Linked DNA regions of Homo sapiens: region 2 is linked to region 1. Evidence: promoter capture Hi-C in human tissues and cell types (Jung and others, 2019). All regions are on one chromosome and are shown on one strand. Each heading gives the region's core, a stretch centred on a gene start or on the middle of the fragment in contact. The rest is flanking DNA. Distances are from core to core; before and after follow the strand shown. Region 1 holds the start of TPBGL (trophoblast glycoprotein like). Region 2 overlaps XRRA1 (X-ray radiation resistance associated 1).

Region 1 (5,518 bases), core at 1,024-3,523:
CAGGATAAGCATTCCTTGTGGTGCAGGACCCTCTCAGATGCAGCCCACCATCTTGGACAGAGTCCTGGGCAAGGACCCTGGGGTCAGGTTTCTAGGCTAAACTCTGAAAACTTGACAGGGGCCTTGGGGCCCCTCTGGCCTATTTCCCCATTTGTGCAAAACAGACGACATTTGCCTTATTCTCTGGCACCTGATGATTCTAAATTCTCTCCAGGCCTCATTTCCCCAAATGAGGTGTTGAGCACCCCCCCAATCAAGGCTGCCTGTGGTCCTGCAGCTCCTTTCCTGGGGGGCAGCAGGGGAGGGGGGCATCAGCCAATCTGAGGCCAGCCACCACCGGGGCCTGGGGAAGGAGTTCCAGCCTTGGTAGTGGTCTGATTCCTCAGGGCCTGGAAGCAGACAAGGAAACAGAGACTTCTGTTCATTCAGTCTGTCATTTGCACCACACACTCTCCTGAGATAGTCTCTATACTGGAAACAGAAAAGTGAAAACGACCTAGTGCCTCCTACCAGGGGAGATGTCAGAGCTGGGGCATGTTGCTGTGTGGGCCGGGGTTTAGGGGAGGGCTATAGCTGGGGGCCCAGCCCCAGTGGCATCTACTTGAGCACGTGTGCCCATGTGAGAAAAGACATCACCAGCCTGTTACCTCCACAGACCAAGGGCATGGTGCAGGGCAGGAGGAGTAGGGTCTGACTGTGCTAGCCAATCGCTGGGTCCCTATGCTTGGCATGGCTTAAGCATGGGCCTGTAAGCTTGCCCTCTGAGAATGTATCCACGAACCTGCATGGGCTCAGAAGTGTGCATATTCAAATATGTATGTCTTTATGAATTTATGGACACATGCCAGGACGCACTCAAACCTACGATCCTATGTCCACATATGAATGAGTCTGCATGGACTTGCATGAGACACATCTGAGCTCTCATACCTGGGAGAGTTAAGACAGGGGGTAGGGAAGAGAGAGGGGCTTGGAGGAGGGGAGAGCTGGGAGACCCCCATCATCACCAGCTCTGTTCCTTAATGTTGGTCCTTGCCCAAGACCCAGGCCACTGCAGGGTCTGCCTCTTCTCCTTAAGTGGTATTGATCCTTTGGTCGATCTGTTAAATATAACCTCAGGGAAGGAGTCAACATAACAACCGTACCCAATTCAGGAGAAAGAGACTGATTCTTGGGAGGAGGTGGGGAGCCTCTATTCCAACCAGCTCTGCTGATACCCGAATGGCCTGCGGATCAAGTGTCAGCCTCTCCAGCCTGAATAATTCATGCTAAGGCCAGGAATCCTCCCTTCTCAGGAGCCTGTCTCTTTAAATCAGGTTTAGAGCTTCCCAGTTCTGGGGGAAAAAAAATCCAGAACAAAACAAATCTGTAAACAGCTCAGCCCCCCCACCCTCAGCCCTGGCCCCTTCTGAGACCCCCAACTCCATGCTGCAAAATCTGCTCCTGCTCTCCCAACCTCTGGTGCCCCAAACCCCACTCACAGGCGGAGAAGCCTGGAGGGACTAGTTGACAGTGTCCAACGGAACCCCAGGAGTCTTAAGAGGTTTGGGGGCAGGGAGTGAAAGCAAAGAGCAGAATCACTACACCCCCGGGTCTCTGTGCCTAGGACAGTGCTTGGCAGAGAAGCCCAGCCCGGTGGAGGAAACCACACGGGGGAACTCCTGGCAGAGGCAGAGCAGCCAGAGTTGGTGGGTGGGAGGGGAGCGGGTGCCACAGACTTCTCCTGAGAATGGGATGGGATGGGATGGAGAAAAAGCTGGTCCCATAGGACCTGCAGGGGTGGTGACACAGCCAGGTCTAATGGAACTAGGGTCGCAGAGGAGGAAGCAGAGACTGGGGATTTTCCAGTCTCTCTGCCTTAGGAAGAGGCCGGAAAATGAGTAACTTTCTCAGCCCACCCCTCATCCCTTCCTCCGGTAGTAGGAGCAGCTCTAAAGTCCTCCCCAACCCCCGAATTCTCCCTGGTGGTGACCCACCTGCCTGCTCTCCGCAGTCGGGCCCCGCCCCACACGTGCTGGAGAAGGAGGAGGAAGGACCCAGCTTAAATGTTGGGGGTGGAGGAGGAGGAAAACCAAGTCGGAGCCTCCAGGAGCCAAACTTCTCGGCAGCCCGGAGGGGCGGGGGCGGAGAGGATGAAGAGAAAGCGCAGCAGCCGACAGCCCTGATTCTCGGGAGCCTCCCACCCCGCCTCCCACGGCGAGGAGGGCGCGGAGACTCCGCTGGGGGCGGAGGACGAGACCGGGAGGCGGGGAGGGGGGAGGCAAACCCTGCCCACTCGGCTCGGAGCCCGGAGCGGCCGCGGAAGCCGGAGGCCGGCGCGCAGGGCGAGGGCACCGGGGGCGGGGGGCTCCGCTCCCCGTCTGACCCCTCTTGCCCCCGGCCAGTCAGCCAGTAAGTGCGGCTCCTCAGACTTTCGAGACAGCGAACGGACCGACCGGGACTGCCAGCCGCTCCGGGTCAAGGACTCGCCCCACCCGTGCCCCCCACCAGGCGCTCCCAACTCACTGGTGAGCGCGGCGGCCCGGGCGCTGGATGCGGGGGCGGCCGCGATGGCCCCGCGCGCGGGACAGCCGGGGCTCCAGGGGCTGCTGCTCGTGGCGGCGGCGCTGAGCCAGCCCGCGGCACCCTGCCCCTTCCAGTGCTACTGCTTCGGCGGCCCCAAGCTGCTGCTGCGCTGCGCGTCGGGAGCCGAGCTCCGCCAGCCTCCGCGGGACGTGCCGCCCGACGCGCGCAACCTCACCATCGTAGGCGCCAACCTGACGGTGCTGCGCGCGGCCGCCTTCGCCGGCGGGGACGGGGACGGCGACCAGGCGGCGGGCGTGCGCCTGCCGCTCCTGAGCGCGCTGCGCCTCACGCACAACCACATCGAGGTGGTGGAGGACGGCGCCTTCGACGGGCTGCCCAGCCTGGCGGCGCTCGACCTCAGCCACAACCCGCTGCGCGCCCTGGGCGGCGGCGCCTTCCGCGGGCTGCCCGCGCTGCGCTCGCTGCAGCTCAACCACGCGCTGGTGCGCGGCGGCCCCGCGCTGCTGGCCGCGCTGGACGCTGCGCTGGCACCGCTGGCCGAGCTTCGCCTGCTGGGCCTAGCGGGCAACGCGCTGAGCCGTCTGCCGCCAGCCGCCCTGCGCCTGGCGCGCCTGGAGCAGCTGGACGTGCGCCTCAACGCGCTGGCCGGCCTGGACCCCGACGAGCTGCGCGCGCTGGAGCGCGATGGCGGCCTCCCCGGGCCGCGCCTGCTGCTCGCCGACAACCCCCTGCGCTGCGGCTGTGCCGCACGCCCCCTGCTGGCCTGGCTGCGCAACGCCACGGAGCGCGTGCCCGACTCGCGGCGCCTGCGCTGCGCCGCCCCGCGGGCGCTGCTAGACCGGCCGCTACTGGACCTGGACGGGGCGCGGCTTCGCTGCGCGGACAGCGGCGCCGACGCTCGCGGAGAGGAGGCGGAGGCCGCCGGCCCGGAGCTGGAAGCCTCCTACGTGTTCTTCGGGCTGGTGCTGGCACTCATCGGCCTCATCTTCCTCATGGTGCTCTACCTAAACCGCCGCGGCATCCAGCGCTGGATGCGCAACCTGCGCGAGGCGTGCCGGGACCAGATGGAGGGCTACCACTACCGCTACGAGCAGGACGCCGACCCGCGCCGCGCGCCCGCGCCCGCCGCGCCCGCGGGCTCCCGCGCCACCTCCCCGGGCTCGGGGCTCTGAGCGGCGCCCCCGGGCTCGGGGCTTCCCTTGCCTGGCCCGAAGCCGTGGAGATGAGACACCCGCGAGCCCCGAGCTCTGAGACCTTCCCCTGACTCGGAGGCGCTAAGCCGTACCCTCTCGTTCCCGCCTCCGAGAGCTCCCACCGTCAAAGACCCAGAGATAGCCGGTCCGAATCCAGAAACCCCGCCTGCCCACCCTAGTTTCCGAAACCTCCCTCCTGAACCACTGAAAGTCCGTTCCCCGTCTCGGAGCTCACACAGAGAATCTGTCCTTCAAGGCCAAAGCTCTGAGACTTGCCCCCAGCACCCTGTGCTTGGAGCTCCGACACCCGAGACTGCACTGACCTCCCTCGCCAGCTCGGAGCCCTCAGTCCCCTCCGGGGCTTGAGGGCCCTTCCATCCCATTCTGGACTCGAAGCACAGCACCCCCATCAGAATGGTTTTGTGGATTTTGAGCCCTTTGTCCCATCCCAGAGCTCAGAGCCCTCCATCCTGCATGGAGGCCCAACCCTGGGGCTCTGAGGATTGGGCACCCTCCCCTCATCTAAGAATATATTTCATACCCCTGCCCCCCCTTCACCCACCCCCGCCTCTGGCTCAGGCCCTTCCCTTCCTCGGCTCAGGCATGGGGCTCAGCTCCTAGTCTGTCCCTCCCATCCCAGGGACAAGCACAGCCCATCTAGCCTTAGTGTGGAGCCAACTCTCAGCCTTTCCCACCAGGGCGCTGACCTCCCGATACTCAGTGCTGGTCCCCAGTCTCAGACTCTCAGCTCTTCACCCCGATCTGACTTTCGTCCTCCTGCCCAAGCCTTTGGCTCTTGACCCCCCCCCCATACCCAATGCTGGCACTCAGCACCCACCCCTGCCATTCACTAGTCAAGGTCCAGTGAGGAATCCGTCCCTGGGATGTCCTCATCCCCTTTTCGTCCCAGGACGAGCTCTTCAGTCCTGCCGGATAGGTGCAGGTGCCATGCACCCCTAGTGCATACTGGCAGATCCTTGTAGGGAAGGAGAGAGTCTTGGGTGTGTGAAAGGGATAGTGGGGCATCGTGGCCTCAGAGAGGGGCAGGAAGTGGGGTCTGAAGGGCTGGAAGTTGCTGCCCTTCGATTTCTCTATGCTCTCTCCCACCCCTGTGGCTCTTCGCCCTTGGGGATTCCTTGCCACCACCGCTACCACCACCACCTCACCCCGTGTATCTTCTGAAAGAGAAGTAGGTCTTTCCTCCTGCCTCAGGCACAAGCCCTCCTGGTTCAGGGTCAGAAGCTCAGCACCTTGCCTTCTCCATGATCCCAAAGCACAATTGGTGAGTGGGGGAGAGGACCCCCTCTCCCTGACTCCCCACCCTCTAGATCAGGCAGAATGGCTGGCCTGTGCTGCGTCTGCACACAGGAAGTCACCTTCCTTTAATATATTGGCTTGAGGCCTGCCTGCCCTCCCCATACCCAGAAAATCTGGATCTCCCTTGAGCAGTTTTCTATAAAGTCTGCAATAATCTCAGATACTCTACTCTTGTTAGTGGTGCCGTATCATTCCTGCTGACCTTGGAGTACTGATGGGGGTGGGAGGGGACTCTTGGGAGGGCATTTTGGACTTCTTTTTGGTGGGGCAGTGACCCTTGATGCGTTCTCCCAGACTGTGGGAGGAGAAATGGGTTCTGATTGCACATAGCAGGATTAAGGTTAGATACATGGAGGGACTTCCCATTGGGATGACATTGTTCCCCAAGCCAGCCTGCTTTCTATCATCGGAGGAGGGGTTATGCACAGCCAAAGTGGGATTCGACACTTCCTCTACATCCTCTTCCCTCCCGTTCCTCATCT
Region 2 (5,518 bases), core at 810-3,309, 320 kb before region 1:
AGAGACAGGGTTTTGCCACATTGGCCAAGCTGGTCTCGAACTCCTGACCTCAAGTGATCCACCTGCCTCGGCCTCCCAAAGTGTTGGGATTACAGGCGTGAGCCACCGTGCCCATCCCCCTTTTAAATTTTAGAAGTGACATAAAATATTTGGTGCTGTTCTAACTCATTTACTAAGTATCCCACAAGGCTGCTAGTTTTGAGTGAGGTCCAGAGCAAGGCAAGGTTCTACAACAGGTCCCAACTGTAATGCAAGTTGCTCTTCCATTGGGCATATGACTCAGCAGGTCCAAATGGCTTCTAAAGGACTATGGCAAATAGGTGTGCTGTACAGATAGGGTACCATACATCCTGGATTTCAATGATAGCCTGAGTTTTCACCTGTTATCGCCAAATAATTATTACTACTGTCCCTTTTCCCTCTCATATATGTCCTGGTTTGGATGATAAAGTACATGGTCATTCTATGAATAGAGCCTTTTCTCGGTACCCATAGCAGATTCATTTTTGAGCAAAGTTATGCCCTATTCTGCAGATAACCTTTTTTTTTTTTTTTTGAAAAACAATTTCTTGCTTACTAGTGCATGTTGGTAGAGGCCAAATACCTGACCACAGGATACTATGTGATCATGCAACCTGAGCCACTCATCATGAACTGAACATGCAACAGAAATCCCCCATCAAGTGAAAGCAATATTTGAAATCAGGCTCCAGCAAGACTGGAAAAGTTGCAGGAATATATGGCTTAGATTCCTATGGCGCATACTCCTGCTGTACTGCTACCTCTTCATCAACCCTTAACTAAGGTCCTGTGGCCATCTAATATAGGAAGAAAAACCTCTAGCTTGGTTTACAAATGACTTAGCATGATATGCTGATACCTTCTCAAAGTCAACTATTACAATATTATAGCCCCACACAGGAGTGACCAAAAACACAGGGGAAGAGAAATCTTCTAAGCAGGCAGAACTTAGAGCAATGTATCTGATTGGCCATTTGCTTGGTCAGAGAGATAGCCAGAAATACAGATCTATACTGATTCACGGGCAGTGGCTGATGGTTTAGCTGAATAGTCAAAGCTTGGAAAAAATATGGGAAAGTTGCTTAAAGTATAGAGAAAAATTATGTGACTTAACCTCTCAGAATGGATAGAGTGTGAAGACCGTGTCTCATATGACTGTTTCCCCAAGACAATCCCCTGTGGCGGAGACTCTCAATGGTCAGGAAGATAAGGTAACCCAATCCATGAATGTCAGTTGCCCTCTTTCCCTTGGTGGCAGGGATGAAGGCTACACACTTCCTTTCACCATAGCAAATCTGGTTATGACCCTTGCTGAGTACTCAACCTGCCAATGGCAGAGGCCACTGCTGAACCCCTAATATGGCACCGAATTTCTAGAGGGATTATACAGCTGTCTAGTATCAAGTTGACTTTAAAAAGCAGCAGCAAGTTTCCTTTACTAGATTATAAATGTATTTTTGGATATAGATTTGCCTTCCCTGCCCACAATGTTCTACAAGTGGAATAGAAACTGTTGATACAATAATACTAGCTTTTGTAATTGCCCATGTATTTACCTTTAATGAGAGCTTTATTCCTTCTTACAGCTTTGAGTTACTGTCTAGCATCCTTTCATTTCAACCTGCAAAACTCCCTCCAGTATTTACGCAGGGCGGGACTGGTGGTAATGAATTTTTTTTACCTTTTGTTTATCTGGGAATGTCTTAATTTCTTCCATACTTTGGAAGAACACTTCTGCTGGATGTAGGATTCCTGATTGACAGGTTTTTTTTTCTTTTAGCACTTTAAATATTTAATATATCAGCCCACTGCCTTCTGGCCTTAAAAGTTTCTGACAAGAAGTCTGCTGATAATCTTATTGAAGATTCCTTGTATGTGATGAGTTGCTTCTCTCTCACTGCTTTCAAGATCCTCTGTCTTTTAACAGTCTGATTATAATATGACTCAGTGGAGGTCTCTTTGAGTTCATCCTATCTTGGAGTTCACTGAGCCTCATGTATGTTTATATTCATGTCATTCATCAAACTTGGGAAGTTTTAGGCTATTATTTCTTCAAATAATCTCTCCGTGCTTTCTCTCTTCTCCTTCTGGGACTTTCATAATACATAGGTTGGTTTGCTTGATGGTATCCCAATCCCACAGGTCCCTTAGGCTTTGTTCAAGTCAATCTTTTTTTTTCCTCTTGTTTCTCTGACTTGATACATTTAATTGTTCTGTCTTCAAGTTTGCTGATTCTCTCTTCTGACTGCTCGAATCTGCCTTTGAAACTCTCCAGTGAATTTTTCATTTCTTATTCTAATTTTCAGGTTCAAAATTTCTTTTTAGGTTGTCTATCTCTTTGTTGATATTTCCATTTTGTTAATATATCATTTTCTTGACTTTATTCATATCTTTCATTAGTTCTTTGAAAACCTTTAAGACAGCTGTTTTAAAGTCTTTATCTAGTAAGTACTCACTTTCTCAGGGATAGTTTCTGTTGCTTAATTTTTTCCTTTGGATGGGCCATATTTTTCTGTTTCTTTGTATGCCTTGTGATTTTTTTGTTGAAAGCTGAATATTTGAATCTATTAATATGGTAACTCTAGAAATCAGATTCTTCCCTTTACCAGGGTTTGCTGGGTTTTTTTGTTTCGTGTTTGATTATTGCAGGCTGTCTCTGTGTCAAGGATCAGGCTGATGTGTAAATGTAAGTTCTTCTCAGGTCTTTTCTAAGCCTGTGCATTTCTCTGGATATATGTGGTGACATTCTAATTTCCTCTGTATATGCAGCTGATTTTGAATGTCCTAGACTTTAATGCCTGGCTCCCAAAAGATGGGGAAAGGAATGAGGATTAAGAAAAGAAATCCTTTAAATTCCCTGGAAGTCTCTTCAGCTGGAGCAGAAAGGGCTTATGACAGTTGTGGATGGGTGTGTGTGCAACAATGGTTGTGTGCCTCTGTGTGCACCTCAATGATGAGAAGTAGCAATCAGTGATCACAGCACAAATCTCTAAAATTTGGAGGACAGAGATCTTTTTGTCCACCCTGGCTCCTGCAAGCTGCATGTGAATTACCCAATGAATATATTTCTTATTCTAATTTTCAGGTTTAAAATTTGAACCATGAGATTGGGAGTTAGGGGATGGGTAGCTGCTACCGGGTTAAAGCTGTAATTGACTGAAATTAGTTGCAGTTTGTCATCTAAATCTTCCCCTGGAAGACGTAAACTTTTAATAGAGTGTGAAGATTATTTGTGTCCACAGTTTCAAAATTGTTACATCAGACTGATTCTGGCAATGAAATTGTTGTCTAGATGAGGAGACAGATTCTTGGTGCTTCCTACTCCATCATCTTCCCAGAATCCTCTAGTGAAATAGTCTTTGATGATTTATCTACTATACCAATTAGATATAGTTAGGGAAGTTGGGACCCTAACTTAACAGCATAGGATATCACATAAACCAAAACTGATACTGTTTTTCTCATAACCACAACCTAAGGTCCTAGGAATTAATGGAAATGAAAGTAGCTCCTCTTACAATTATATCTAATAGTCCACTTGCAGAATTTTTGCTTCTCATTCTACAACTTTTGGCACTTCTGATTTACAGGTCTTAGTTCCTAAGGAGGTACTTTTACCAAGAGACACAATCATGGTTCCACTGAACTGGAAGTCGAGATTGCTACCAGCCACTTGCATTTCTCATTTCACTGAACCAACAGTCAGACAAAGAGGGGTTCATTCTACTGGCTAGGTGACTGATATTGTTTATAAAAATAAATATAATTGCTGTTATACCTTGAGGTTAAAAAAAAAAAAGTATCTCTGGGACTAGAGTATTATCTGGTGCTCCTCTAAGAAGTTCCATGTCTTTTAGTCTTTTAATGAAGACTACAGCAACCCAGTAAAAGCAGGACCTTAAAGGACTCAGACCCTTCAGAAGTGAAGGTTCAGAAGACCACATCAGTTAAAGAACCCCAACCAGCCAAGGTGCTGGAAGATGACAGAGGAACATTAAATAGGTGATGGAAAAAAGGATTTACAAATATCCACTATGGCCTCCTGACCAGTTAAGAAAAGATCACTGTAGCAACTATGCATATTTTCGTGTGCATTTTCTTCCTTCCTTAGTGTGTGTGTGTGTGTGTGTGTGTGTGCACTCGCATGCACACTTAAACTGCTAGTGGTGACTGACTTTACAACTTAGTTTTTAGGATATAAAATATCCATAAATTTCTTTAGAAGAGAAAATAATATCATCCAGCAATGGCTACAGTAACTGATGGAACTGTGTCTCATCCTTCTTGAGGGGATGGTGAAAGTGTCTTCAGTATAAGAGGAAGAGTTCCTTCATGTTAGGTAAAAGCATGTTGCAGTTGCTATTGTTGTATGGAAATTAAATATGGAGGGAAGCAGGAGGGTAGCTATTGGGGTTCCAAGGGTTGAATGGTGCCAGTTATCTGCCTATTTGCTCTCAGCCTTCACCCCTTCCTTCTGTGTTCTTCTATGTATTGTAGGGGGCTGGAGCCATCTCCTTAACTACACTTCCCAGACTGCCTTTCCAACTAGTTGGATACTGCCAATAGAAGGGATTCATGAGAGACTGGAAGGCCAGAGCCAGGGAGAAGCAACTCTCTTGTCTGGCTTCTGATAGCATTTCTGTCAGCAGCAGCAGTGATAGTGCAACAGCAATGGCAGTACTAACCATGGTAACTGCGTTGGCAGAGATTCCAGCCTTGGTTGAGGCATCACATCTTCAGCAGGTCTACAATTACAGTGACACCCTCCCTGAAAGCCCAGCAGTGGATATAGACTTGTTGACTTCAGTTTAGCAGTGATGCAGCTTCTGATCTCTGGTTATCAACGCTTCTTACTTTTTGTTCTTCCCATACCCCTCTTCTCCACTTAGCTCTTCCATCCCTTCTAACAGCCATGTAACCAATTCCCTCTCTATCACTGGTGATATTTTAGGTGGAATAATGGTTCTCTGGGTATGATTTTTAAGAGTGCTTACCTTTTAGAGCTACATACTGGAATATTTATAGATGAAATAATATGAAACATTTATGGCTGTATATATCTGAGATTTTTCTTCAGAATATTCCAGGAGGGGGCGTGATGGGGGCATAGATGAAACAAGATTGGCCATGACTTGATAATTGTCAGGTGATAATTGTTGGTGATAGGTACCTGGAGTCAATTTTATGATAGACTCTAATTTTATATGTGTTTAAAAACTTTCCATAACAAAATACCAATTACCTCTCCCTGCCAAGAATTAATAAATGAATAAACCAATCAGTAAACCAATTAATACCATCTATTTGTAATACCTTGAGTGGGTTTTGTATTTCTGTCTACAGCCTGACTGGCTCATGGAGAAAGCCTACCTAAGAATGAAGCCGGGACCCGGCAGAATGGCTCCTGTGAAGAAGGGTGGCAAGAAGAAAAAGGGCCGTTCTGCCATCAATGAGGTGGTGACCCGAGAATACACCATCAACATTCACAAGTGCATCC

What was found. The method cuts DNA at HindIII sites, captures the fragments that hold promoters and counts their contacts. A contact is called where the count stands out against the background at its distance.
Region 2: a contact is called between a fragment that was not itself captured here and the fragment with the promoter of TPBGL in region 1, in 3 of the 25 tissues and cell types used here (lymphoblastoid cells, mesenchymal stem cells and small bowel).

Annotation. Positions count from the first base shown.
Region 1 is chr11:75,238,501-75,244,018 of GRCh38, forward strand. It overlaps TPBGL (trophoblast glycoprotein like), which reads left to right and starts at 2,274. Exons shown (of 1, transcript NM_001195528.2): 1 at 2,274-5,204. The coding sequence starts at 2,550. The coding sequence ends at 3,698. LOC124902717 (a long non-coding RNA gene) reads right to left here and starts at 1,370. Exons shown (of 2, transcript XR_007062783.1): 1 at 1,146-1,370. RefSeq lists silencers at 3,180-3,429, 3,560-3,639. The HindIII fragment of the contact is 18,187 bases long and covers 1-5,518 here.
Region 2 is chr11:74,914,169-74,919,686 of GRCh38, forward strand. The region is part of intron 8 of XRRA1 (X-ray radiation resistance associated 1); the gene reads right to left. It also overlaps the pseudogene RPL31P46. Among named protein-coding and RNA genes, the nearest start is that of XRRA1, 32 kb to the right of the region's middle. The HindIII fragment of the contact is 9,065 bases long and covers 1-5,518 here.